Regions from separate parts of the Homo sapiens genome. Here all the other regions are linked to region 3. Evidence: promoter capture Hi-C in 16 types of primary human blood cells and fetal thymus (Javierre and others, 2016). All regions are on one chromosome and are shown on one strand. The core of a region is centred on a gene start or on the middle of the fragment in contact, and the rest is flanking DNA. Distances in the headings are between cores, read along the strand shown. Region 1 overlaps LRRFIP1 (LRR binding FLII interacting protein 1). Region 2 overlaps LRRFIP1 (LRR binding FLII interacting protein 1). Region 3 holds the start of RAB17 (RAB17, member RAS oncogene family).

The links. Contacts are between HindIII fragments. The CHiCAGO score rates a contact against its expected background, and 5 or more counts as called.
Region 1: a contact is called between a fragment that was not itself captured here and the fragment with the promoter of RAB17 in region 3, in 1 of 17 cell types (naive B cells). The highest score is 5.0, in naive B cells.
Region 2: a contact is called between a fragment that was not itself captured here and the fragment with the promoter of RAB17 in region 3, in 1 of 17 cell types (endothelial precursors). The highest score is 6.6, in endothelial precursors.

The regions. Positions count from the first base shown.
Region 1 is chr2:237,759,288-237,763,967 of GRCh38, reverse strand. LRRFIP1 (LRR binding FLII interacting protein 1) reads right to left here. Exons shown (of 24, transcript NM_001137550.2): 19 at 3,763-3,904. Among named protein-coding and RNA genes, the nearest start is that of RBM44, 37 kb to the left of the region's middle. RefSeq lists a silencer at 1,327-1,539. The HindIII fragment of the contact is 2,905 bases long and covers 1-2,874 here.
Region 2 is chr2:237,777,254-237,781,723 of GRCh38, reverse strand. LRRFIP1 (LRR binding FLII interacting protein 1) reads right to left here. Exons shown (of 24, transcript NM_001137550.2): 24 at 81-2,302. The coding sequence ends at 2,192. Among named protein-coding and RNA genes, the nearest start is that of RBM44, 19 kb to the left of the region's middle. The HindIII fragment of the contact is 1,833 bases long and covers 1,602-3,434 here.
Region 3 is chr2:237,589,284-237,591,983 of GRCh38, reverse strand. It overlaps RAB17 (RAB17, member RAS oncogene family), which reads left to right and starts at 1,250. Exons shown (of 6, transcript NM_022449.4): 1 at 1,250-1,517. RAB17-DT (RAB17 divergent transcript) reads right to left here and starts at 824. Exons shown (of 3, transcript NR_187201.1): 1 at 717-824; 2 at 1-112. The HindIII fragment of the contact is 11,150 bases long and covers 1-1,915 here.

The DNA of each region.
Region 1 (4,680 bases), core at 173-2,672, 170 kb before region 3:
TCTCACACCTCTCTGTACTTTCTGCTTCACAGGCATCACTAATGTCCTGTGAGGGACTTTCATGTTCGGGCAGGGTGCAGCGATCTGCGTCTTCGCTCTTTGGTTCTGCAGGACTGCTTTGAGTGGCACCATCTATTTTAGCATTATCTTTTGCAACACCTTCATCTAATTCTTCACCACCAGCCCTCGGGCCTGATGATTGAACGGTGTCATCCTCAAAATCTAATGTGTCTCCATCAGCTAGTACCTCCTCAGCTGCTGTTTGTACATCATCACCTTCTTGGTCAAGTTTTCCATCCAACTTAATTTTAGGATTCTCCGGACAATCAACATTTTCACTGCTTTCTGCTGCAATTTTCTGTTTTGGATTTTCAGTCACCTCGTTTTGGGCTTCCACTGCTGACTTTCTGTCAGTAGACTTTACCTGCTCTTCTTCCTTAATTTCACTTAAATCTGTGTTCTGATACGTTAACTCTTTTTTAACATCTTTAAGGGTTTCTACGGGTACTGGGGATTTTTTCTTCTTGTTTTTCTTTTTCTTGTTCTTTGTCTTCTTCTGCGATGAGTCCAATGCCTCTCCCTGTTGGTCACTCTTTTCTTCATCGGGCTCTTTCATATCTAAGGGTTCATTTTGAGTGTCTACTGTACTTGGACCTGTCGCTTCCTGACAGTTGCCCTCAGTTCCTGCTGGAGAACCAGGAACTTCTGTCTTGATTGGTTTCTCGTCCCTTAATCCTGTTTCTTCACCCTCTTCTTCGTTGTGATCCCTACCTACTTCTGTACTGTGCGCTGGAACCTCCTTGGGCTCAGCTGCTTCCTGGTTGGTGAATTCTTTCTCTAAACTATGCCCTGTGCTTGTCTCTAACTCTTGGGGGACCTCTACCATACATTTGTCATCATGATAAACTGTGTCATCACTATGCCCTAAAGGACACGAGGCCACTGTGCCTGCCTGCTCTTCAACCTGAGTCACTGCTGCCTCTCCCACATTCTCTGTGTGGTTCCCACCATCTAAGTCACTCCAACAGTTGGATGGCTCAAGGGGAGTTCTGGTCCTGTCATCTGGTGCACCCATGACCTCATTTGACTCAACCTGTACTGTGTTTTCAGGGAGAGAACTGCTCTCAAGAATTTGGCTTTGAACCTGTTCCTCATAGGTAGCACCTGCTAAGGTTCCTAGGAATGGGGCAGTGTCTTCAGAGGATTTCTGGTCCTCGGTATTCTCACCAGCAGGGAATACCTCTATGTCCACACAGTCCTTCACTGTGTCCTCTGTGTGTTGTTCTTTCTCAGTATTGTGCAAGATTTCTCTTTTCCCCACATTCGCCACGATTTCATTTTTCACCTCCACTTCACTGGCTCTTCCTAAAAGACCATTGAGAAAATTGAAGGGACCCCATGATGTGGCGGCCACATAATCTACATTAGAATGTAAACACACGTTCCAAATCCCACCCACCCCTATTCCTAAAGACAGAGTCATCAAAGAGTCATGAGAAACAAGCCTTTGCCAGTTCTGTGCGGCAAAGCAGCAGTTGCATTAGTAAATTTTGGGTCAGTGAGGGCCACTGCCACCACATCAAAGGCCAGAGTGGCTGCTGGTGCCATCTTGTGTGGACAGATTTTTAAAGGTGACGTTAAGTTTCAACAAATAGAAAGAACTCTGGATCAGGCAGCCAAACAATCCACAATGATGGGTTTAGGAACAGACTGAAGGTTCAATTCCCCACTCTCACTTCTCAATGAACAACTTGACAACTTGTACTTTTGCAGCTGTCAAACTGCACTCCATGTCACACAGCCCTAAAAGCAGCTTTCAAGTAATTTTTAAAAAGAATATTCAGTGCACTTTTAGAAATGCAGCCTCAAGGTCAGTCTCAAGGAAGATGCTTTTGAAATAGCTCATATGAAAGGAAATCTATCTTCTGCCACTCAACTATTGTTTTCCTGAGAAAACACCCTGTGTCCATGCCCTGATACCTCTGCTCCATTCCCTAAGGGACTAGGGAGAGAGGACCAGCAGGAGGCAAATGTTCAAGATCAAGATGACCACTAAATTAAATGATAAATTATTCATCGTCTAAAGAACATCAAACTGTTTTGGAATTTTTGGACTCTCCAAACAAAACCCCAGCAGATTAGATATGGTACTATGTTACTGAAAGTCAAAGCTAGATAATTTTATAGCCCAGTGATCTCCATGGTGGGGTGCCCATATCCCAGGGAAAATGGGGGAAATATTAGGAATTCTATTTAGAGTTTTACTCTAAAACTTCTTTGCATATCTTTGCATATATTTTATAACGTACATTTTATATTAATGAAATAGTATACATATGTAGATTTAAAATAAACATACATATTGGATCCTACAATTCTTTGCTGAAGGAATATGTGATCAAAAGTCATTTGAAGGCCACTTTCAAAACTGACATTTCTGGTTCTTACAACATTTCACAATGGTTATCAAAGATTTATAAAATGTGTATTTGAGTAAGAGCAGCGTAATCAGATTCCTAGCTGTTCGGGTAGCTCATATAAAGGTATGATGGAAATTGATTAATTTATCTTTTCTCAACAACGGTATATAGATACTACATACCTATCTAGAGACGGAATCTTGCTAGGTTGCCAGGCTGGCCTGGAATTCCTGGTCTTAAGTGATCCTCCAGCCTTGGCCACCCGCAGCGCTGGGATTAGAAGTGTGAGCCACTGCACTAGGCCACAACTTTTTTTACACAATTGAAAAGAGCTGTGTTTCTTTAATAGTCATAAAGATAATGAATGAGGTACCTCCCTGGAATGCGAGGCCTGAGAAGATGGGGCCTGGAGGTGTCTACATTTCCATAAATAAAAAGAAATAAGATGAAAGCTTCTACATTAAAATGAAAAGTCACGGACCCTGACCTTATTCCAGCCTCTTTGTAAAACACTGGAACGCAGAGGGTGACCAGTGACAGATGAGGCCTCACTTGCACGCTGCAACTTCAGGCTGCACGCCAGAATCTGAAGGTTTCTCCCAAAGCCAACTCTTATGACAAATTATGACAAATCAGATCATTGAAAATGGTATAAAATATTCCTCTGATCTACTGGATTCCCCAGTTTTATATTCTTTCAGAAGCAAACACGTGGCATACAAAGGAGGATCCCCTCTGACAAAGGTGGGCATACTCAGACTCTCAGCACCGCCACACCCACTACCACGGCCGCCTGCCCACCTCGAGCGGTGGCTTGAAAAAGGCAACACAGACGGACCTGCTGTCCACAGGCACCCCGTACCCTCAAAGCGCTGAATGCTGCCCAGGATGTCGATGTTGGCTTGCAAATATGGCCAACTGACTTGACGGCCTCAACCATTCTGATCTTTTGATAATTCTGTCATAGAATCGGTTTAAAAAGCCACACTTTATAGGTACAGATATATATGTGTCTGAGGAAAACCAAATAGTACTCTCCACATTGTTACTTAATTTTGAGACTGTTTTCCTTTTGCCTTCACAGTCTTGCTTGGTAGCTTTGAGCAGCAAAAGAAAAGGTTCACTTGAGCCATTGATGGTGCACTACACAGAGATGCATGCCAGACAACACGTGGGTGACCACACCGGGTGGGCAAGGAAATTACCATGAAGTGATGAAACAAATGGCATGCTGGTGACTGTTAACCCATCAGCGACGGTGGCTCCAACCCCAGCAGTGCATGGAGGGTGAACCAATGCTGAGTGGAAAGGTGTGAGGAGCCGAAGGAAAGCAAATACTTACCTAGGGTCCCATCCCCTGTCGACTTGAGGGCATTTAACTCTTCTTTTGTCATCTTGGTAGGACCTTGGTATCCAACATTATTGAGGGTGTCGGAAGTCTCTCCATTGGTAGCTATTTCTGAATTTAGGATTATTCCATGTTTCTGGGAACAAAAATAGGCTCATCGTAATATTTACTCAGTGATATTAGGTTAAACTCTGTTTTAATACAATAATAAAAAAGAAAACCATTTTTTCCTGAAGTACAGGGTAACTCCACAGAGACAAGAGAAATGCTAGGGTGCAGCACTCGTAAATATTCGGTCAACACACACAAATCTGGGATATCGTCCTCCAAAGGCTACTTCTTTCTCAGATGTTCCAATCCATGCTTTCATTTGCTGGTGACAAGCTACTTCCACCAGGCATCCTTTTTAACTACAGGTAGTGGCCTGTGGGCTGCCCCCAAGTGGAGCAGTAAGCAAGTCACTGCCAAGTGACCTTTCATTTCAAAACCCTGATTGCATTCTTTAAAAAGAGAAACCAGATAAAGAAAGAAATATATACATGTTCTGAAAGAGACACACGAAACTTATGTTAAAGAAGGAATTCAGAGGTGGCTAGAATGTTCAGTATATTCAAAAGAAACAGAATTCACTGAAAACAGCAGCACTTCCCAACTGCAGACATCACTCACCCATGCCCTCCTGCCGCCTGTGGCTCTCTCTCCCTTGTGTGTGAGGAACTCCCCTGAACTGATCGCCTCTTCAAGGAGCAGAATTACGAATCTTAGCTCTAAGCCTGTAGCTGGCTGGCTCACTGCTCTGGCTTTGACCCTGGAGGCCAAGCAGCAGATGGTGACGGTTCAGGAACCCCCCCACCCAGAGTGCTGCCACTGGCGCTTCACCTGTGTCAAGCAGCGGCTGAAGACGCCTTGGCG
Region 2 (4,470 bases), core at 1,269-3,768, 190 kb before region 3:
AGCTCCAGACGACCGTCGTGCTGAGGCTGAGAAACGCTAGGTTGCAGGGATGAAAGAAGCCAGCAACCAATTTCCATTCGTTACATCTGCAAAAAAAGTTTTATTTTACTAAATAAATTTAAAAATCGTGTTCTAGCTTCCTCTGGATTAGGAAGTGTGTGTAACATTGGTTTGCTGTTTCCAAAAGAATTGGTGGGAGAGGTAGAGACTGAAGGCTTGACTTCCTCAGAGCCACTGATAGGGAAAACGCCATCTTCTCAGGGCTGTGAGACACCTGGGAATCGATGCCTTGCAGCCCTGTTCTACCAGCTGGGAGACTTCTGCCAGTTCACCTTCCTGGACCCTGGGTCCCTCATCTGTAATGTGGATTTGATAACAGCATCTACCTCATAGAATTTCCGTGCAAATGAAATGAGTGAAAATATGTGAAAATTGCATGAGTGAAAAATACCTAAAAGCGTCAGCATGCTGCCGGCCGTGTCTGCGTGATGTGTGAGTGTTTGCTGCTGGTGTTATTCACGCATGACATAGACATTTTCCCAGTTAAACATGCTTGTATTCAGATGTTGTGGAAGAAACCTTAAGGATGAGACAAGGAACTGAATATCTCCCTTTTGCCGGTGGGCCCAGCATGGTCAGCACAGGGTCCCTGAGGGGCTTCGTCCAGCTTCCTTCCTCTTTCCTGTTCATACGGTGCCCGGGTGTGCAGTGTGGGTCTCCCAGTGGTGCCCACCTGCCAGCACATTTTGCTCACCTGTCCGACCCGTGGTTTCCTACTTGCCAGTGTTGGCCCCCAGCCCCCTATAACTTGTCTGCTTCCCAATGGGCAGTGGCAAATATCCTCTGCACAAGGAGATACAAAAATCTTGTGTATTTTAATAGAGATTTCATCTCTTTCTTAATGCAACGCAGCTGTGTATATCCTAGATCCATACAGTTCTGGGGGATGGACACTGGTGACCCCTAGCATTATGCTGGGAGTGTTTTCTTGATTATATACCCTGAACTCACAACCCTCACTCCAGCATTCTCCATGTGTTAAGACTAGATATGGTTTTGGATGATACTGACTCAGTTTCCACTTGCTAACGTCCCGAAAAGCTGACTGGCTTCACCAGCCATACTTGAAATACAACATATATGAACAGTCACTAAAAATCAGCAGGTAGCTAAACGTTTTTACTTTTGTCCTTGATGATATTGCCATCGTCTCTACTGTTACCTCCTCCTTCACTTCACTTTTTAAGTGCACTCATTCTGTGAAAACACCTTTTTTTTTAAATAGGGAAAGAAAAATGAATTGACTTGATATTCTTAAAAAATAAAAAGATGACCCAAAATATACAGAACCATTAATATGAAATTAAAGATCTTCTTTCTCAGTGGAAAAAAATTAGAACCACATTGCTGAAGTCTCTCAACATTTCATTTTTAATTTTTCTAATAGTACATTCTTTAAAAGAAGTTAACGACTTCAATTCCAAATATAAGGATTAAATAATGCAATGAAAAGCTGTCATTTTCAGTGAAGCTATTGCCTAATTACCCTGGAAAAAAGTATTCTTATGACTGAACTGATGCAAAAATCCCTTAGAAAAGCTTCATTTGTTGCCTGTAAAGAGTCTTCTTAAGGTCACTTTTACTTCTAGACTGCCCCCTTGTTTCCAGTGAAAGAGTTTTGCTTGGTAATGGCTTGTGGTTCCACAGTGTTTTGTGTATGAAAAGCGTAGACTAAGAGATACTACTGAAGTCGCTCAAATTGTAGATTCTGCCATGAAAGGAAGTCCCAACACTGTAACATTTCCCCTTAATCTTCAGCAAGACACATGAAAAAAAAAAAAAACTCAAGTCCCAACTGAATCTTTACTTTGATCATCACTTCCAGCGGCATTCAGAGGCTGCTGTGCGGTCAGACACAGAGCTCCCTCGAGGCCCCTGTGTGCTTATGAAGTACCTGCAGGTTCTGAGCGTCGGCGCCAGCCCGGGCCAGGGGTCTGCAGACAGAGGCACCTGGTGGCTGCTGGGGCTCCCTGGGGTGAGCCATGGCACGGGAGCCCCTAAGCGCCAAGCTCGCCACGGTCTTCGTCTCTCGGAAGGCAGGGGAAGAAGCAGCGCTCCCAGATAGGACAGAGAAAAGCCTATGAAACAATGCTCTCCAGTCACCAACCAGTTGCCTGATCAGAGCTGGAATTTACTGCTGGGACAAGAGTGCACTCCGATTTGCTTTCATTTTTTCCAGACGCTTCACTAAGTGGCCGTTGCTCACCTCGAGCTCTTCTGTTTTATCCAATGCAGAGCGGAGCTGGGAACGGAGGAAAGGCAGTGAGCTTTAAGGAACTTGTTTCCTCCAAACATAACAGGGTTCTGTGTTACCGAAATTCCAATCCTACTGAAAAATAAAATGATAACTTGGCCCCTGGTCCCTCATGATGCCCTTCCTCCTCTGAAACAACTGGACTCCAGAGAGGGAACACCCTTGGGGATCCTGATGGTTTTCTTTTTTTTTTCTTGAGATGGAATCTCGCTCAGTCGCCCAGGCTGGAGTGCAGTGGCGTGATCTCGGCTCACTGCAAGCTCCGCCTCACGGGTTCAAGCGATTCCCCTGCCTCAGCCTCCCGGGACTACAGGTGTGCGCCACCACCCTCAGTTAATTTTTTGTATTTTAGTAGAGACGGGGTTTTGCCATGTTGGCCAGGATGGTCTCGATCTCCTGACCTCGTGATCTGTCCGCCTTGGCCTCCCAAAGTGCTGGGATTACAGGCATGAGCCACCACGCTCGGCCTCTTTTTTTGTTTGTTTTTTTTTTTGAGACAAAGTCTCGCTCTGTCACCCAGGCCAGAGTATAACGGTGTGATCTTGGCTCACTGCAACCTCCGCCTTCTGGGTTCAAACAATTCTCTTGTCTCAGCCTCCTGAGTAGCTGAGACTACAGGTGCACACCACCACACCTGGCTAATTTTTTGTATTTTATTAGAGATGGGGTTTCACCATGTTGGTCAGGCTGGTCTTGAACTCCTGACCTCAGGTGATCTACCCACCTCGGCCTCCCAAAGTGCTGGGATTACAGGCGTGAGCCACACGCCCAGTGGGGATCCTGATGGTTTCACAAAAGGTAAGTGAGGCATGAGGTAAACAAACACAAACAACAAGAGCTGAGCCTGGACTGCATGGCGAAGGTGGTCCCCACAGCCCTGGCAGCCAGAGTCCAAGGCAGGAATGCCTGAGGCCAAGACGGCCACACCTGGGAGCCAGGGCCATGGAGCCTGAGAGTCAGGCAGAAGACGAGCTGCAGAAGCCACATTAGCAGGGCATCATCTGGACCCACAGGCAGCAGGGCAGAGTGGGGTGCCCTAAGCTGGGAGAACGTGGTTTTGGAGGGGTGACAAGAACAGGGTCTATGGCTCTGCTTTCGACCCAAAACACTCAAGGAAGCTTGTTTGGGTCCTGGGACAGAAGTCCCGACCCCACCTCACTAGCAGAGGCAGAAGCAAGCCCTTTTTGCAGGAAGTTTCCACAAGTTAAGCCTGGAGTTATTCCTACAAATTAAAATCAAGCATAAGCTCACAAAACACTAAGGTGACAAACCATTTGAGTGAGAGTCAACAGAAGCAATAAATGACAGAATTAGACCCCCAAAGACTGAGCATGTTTCAGTTGTCAGATACAGAAAACCAAACAGCTGTGTATGAAATATTTAAAGAATAAGAATACAATTTAAAAAGAGGACATACATGAACATGCAGCAAGAAACTATCAACAATGAAGACACTTTTTAAAAAAAATGGTGAACTGGAAAATCTTTGCAAAAACTTTAGGCATTATCCAATAGAGAGAGGTAAGGAGATAGAAAACATGAAAGAGAGATGGTTAAAAAATGTGGAGACAATGAGAATCTCTAACATCCTCTGATTAGAGTTCCAGAGGGGAAAGTGGAGAGACTAAAAAAGAGGAATTATTTAAGGAGTTAATGGTTGAATATTTTCCAAAATCAATTTTTAAAAAGACTTCACAGATCCAAGAAACACTATATATCTCAAGCAGAAAGATTCCAATAAACTACATCTAACAGTAAAACTGTAGAAAATCAAAGACAAACAGAACCTGAAAGAAACTAGAGAAGAAAAAAAAAGGTCCCTACAAAGGACCGACCGTTAAAACAACAACTTTCTCAACAGCTCAATGGAAGCCAGCAGATGGTGGCATAATCGCTATAATCATTGAGGAAAATGACCACCACACAGAATTGCATGTCCCTGAATACTACTGTCCAAGAACAAGGATGAAACGAAAACATGTACAAACAAAAACAGGGAATTCACCACCAAGAAGTCTGCTCTAAAAGAATTTCTACAGTATGTACTTCAGTGAGGAGGAAAATGATTCTAGTACAGTCTGAGACACTAGCAGGACAGACATATAAAATGGCCAATATGTAGTTATGTCAAACAAACATGGGCAATATAAAACAAC
Region 3 (2,700 bases), core at 1-2,500:
TCGAGCCACCGCGCTGGCCTCTTTTTGCATTCTTGCTATAAAATTGGTATTTGTATCTTCCTCCCATTCTGCGCTCCCCCAACCCTGCAGGAAGGTGGATTCTTCAAGGGAACTGGAGAGAAGAGAAGCACATTCATGTATTTCCACATTCAGCCTCCATCTCACGAGTTACACCATTCCCAGCACGTCACCACCCCCAGACCTTTGGTTACCAGCCTGGGGGCAGAGGATAAGGACGTCATTCAAAAATAGAGAGATTCTCAAGCCTCCAGAGTGCGGGGGCCCAGCCGAGCATGCTGGCGGCTTCCAGGGAGGTGGCCACGCCCCAGGGGAAGTGGTTGCATGGAGGAAGAATCTCAGAGGAGGCTTGGACGTGGTAGAGCAACGCTAGTCCTGTGTTAGGACTGGCTAGTCCGTCCTGCAGGGATGAGGGGCAGAGCCTCAGCAGAAGTCCAGGCCAGTGTCCCCCCTCCAGCATAAGAGCCCCCCACTCCCACAGGGCGGAGGAACCACTGTGGTGGCGGAGCTTATTTCCCAGCAGCCCCGCGGGATGAGACCCAAACGAGAAGTTAGGGTGAGTTTGGAGGACATAAAGTGAGCTGGCTTCCCGTATACTGGCTGTGTGGAGTAATGTTCACGGCAACAGATTTCCATCTCCTCAGCCTCAGGCCCAACCCTGCTACCCCAGCCATACTCAGAGGCTCTGGAAATCTTACCTGGAGGAGACTCTTCTGTTACCACCAAGCCAGGAAGTTTCATGGCTTGGGAAGACCAAGAGGAAGTCCACCTCCCCCTCTCCTGCACCTGGAGTCTCCCATGTGCACGGAGGCCACGCCCCCACCCCGCCCTCAGGTGGCATCAGCCCAGGATCTGACCCTGGACTGGCTCACACTCAGTTGCCTCTGGCCAGTGCAGGGCTCAGCCAGGGATGGCTTCTAGCTGACAGTGGGAGGAATTAATTCATCTGACCGGAATATTCTTTTCTCTTCTGGGCTGTTGGTTTTTCAAGTGCAACAAAGATTCCATACAGCTCCAAGGAAGGAGCCAAGAAAAACATTCTGTGCCAAAGTGAGATCCTGGAAGTGAAACCCCGGAATAAAGCTGAAAAACGGGCTCCAGTTGGGTGCCAGGAAATGCAGGACTGGAATGTGACTTGACTTCCGGCAGCGCGCAGGTGCTCCCGGGTCACCTGCTTTGAGGTCCAGCCTCCTGCCCTGCCTCAGGTGACCACATGACCACTGTGGACTTTGCCCTGAAACCTTCTGGGAGGAGAAGAGGCCTGACCTTGGCGCTGGGGTCCAGTGGGCATTGCTCTGGTCCGAGGCTGCTGCTCTTGACCTCTGCTCTGCGGCTGTTTTCCATTGGAGTAGAGGCTCCTCCTGTCCTGTCCTGCCTGTGGAGGGAAGCAAACCTTCCCCTGGACCAGAGAGAGGAGAAAGCGGAGACAGGTAGCAACGCTGTGGACTGGTGATGACAGGCTCTTCAGCTCCCTGCAAGTGACCGGGCCTGGGGAACAGGTGAGTCATTGTTTAAACCTCTGTGCCCTTTGTGGAGTGTCTGCCTGTGTGTGTGTGTGTCTCTGCTTCTCTGTGTGTGAGTCTCTGTGTGTCTGTGTGTGTGCTCACGTGTTTGTACCCATGTCTGTATTTGTTTGTGTCTGTGCATGTGCCCATGTGTGTATAATCAAAGGACAAAGCTGGGGCGGAGACTTCCTAGTTCAGATTTCTGATGGCTCACTAAGTCGGATTCCCAGAAGGAGATTCTTATTTGCATTTTTCTTCGGGAAAGTTCCGGTTTTAAGGTCTTGAAAAAAAAAAACACAAAAAACTTCTGGTAATGAGAAGAACTCTTAAAGAAATCCATTTCAAATGACATCAACATTCCCAATTTAATACCCAGTGATATCTAGGAAGCTTGTCAGGTTTTCTTGTAAACTCCTTTTTACAATCTACATTGTGTTTTCTGTATCAGATGGCTGTATTCTGAATGCAATGTACAGGTGTACCTCTCGTAATCTCAATATTCTTCACAGGCCCCAGGCAAGGGTGACACAGGATCACAGTTGCCGATAGACTCATCAATCAGACCCTTCCCTGGAATGGCCCCTTCCCCGCAAAAAAGACTAATGTGGGATTTGCTCTCCGTTTTTTTTCCCTTTAGTGGAAGGGAGGTGCAAGAGATTAAAAAGCCCCAAGTTAAGATTACTAGAGAAGCGCCAGTCTTGAATATGGTGTTCCTGAAAACATCTTTGTCTTCAACAACCTAATAACATCTTTCACTACTAATAACCCCATCTTGATTAAATTCTGGAGGTGGGGGTCAGGTGCCACACTTTTAATTTTCTCTTTGGACAGAAGGCTCCAACCTCTCATTATTGAAAGCTTACAACACTCAATCACACAAAAAGTTATATAAGAAAATGTTTACTGCAGTCTTATTACAGAGAAAAAATTAAAACTAAGTAAAAATCCAGTATTAGGAAAATGGTTCAGCAAGTTGAGATAGTTGTAGAAATGTTATATGTCCATTAAACATGATTTTGAAGCAATGTGTGAGACTGCCTTTGGTATTAAGTATTTCTTACCCATCGGATAATAATTTTATGTTAAAACTATGGGTTTTGGTTTGTTTTTAGGAGTCATAGAAAAAAACTAGAAGTAGGCAAAAATACCATTTGTGGTTGTATTACGGGGGTGGAGT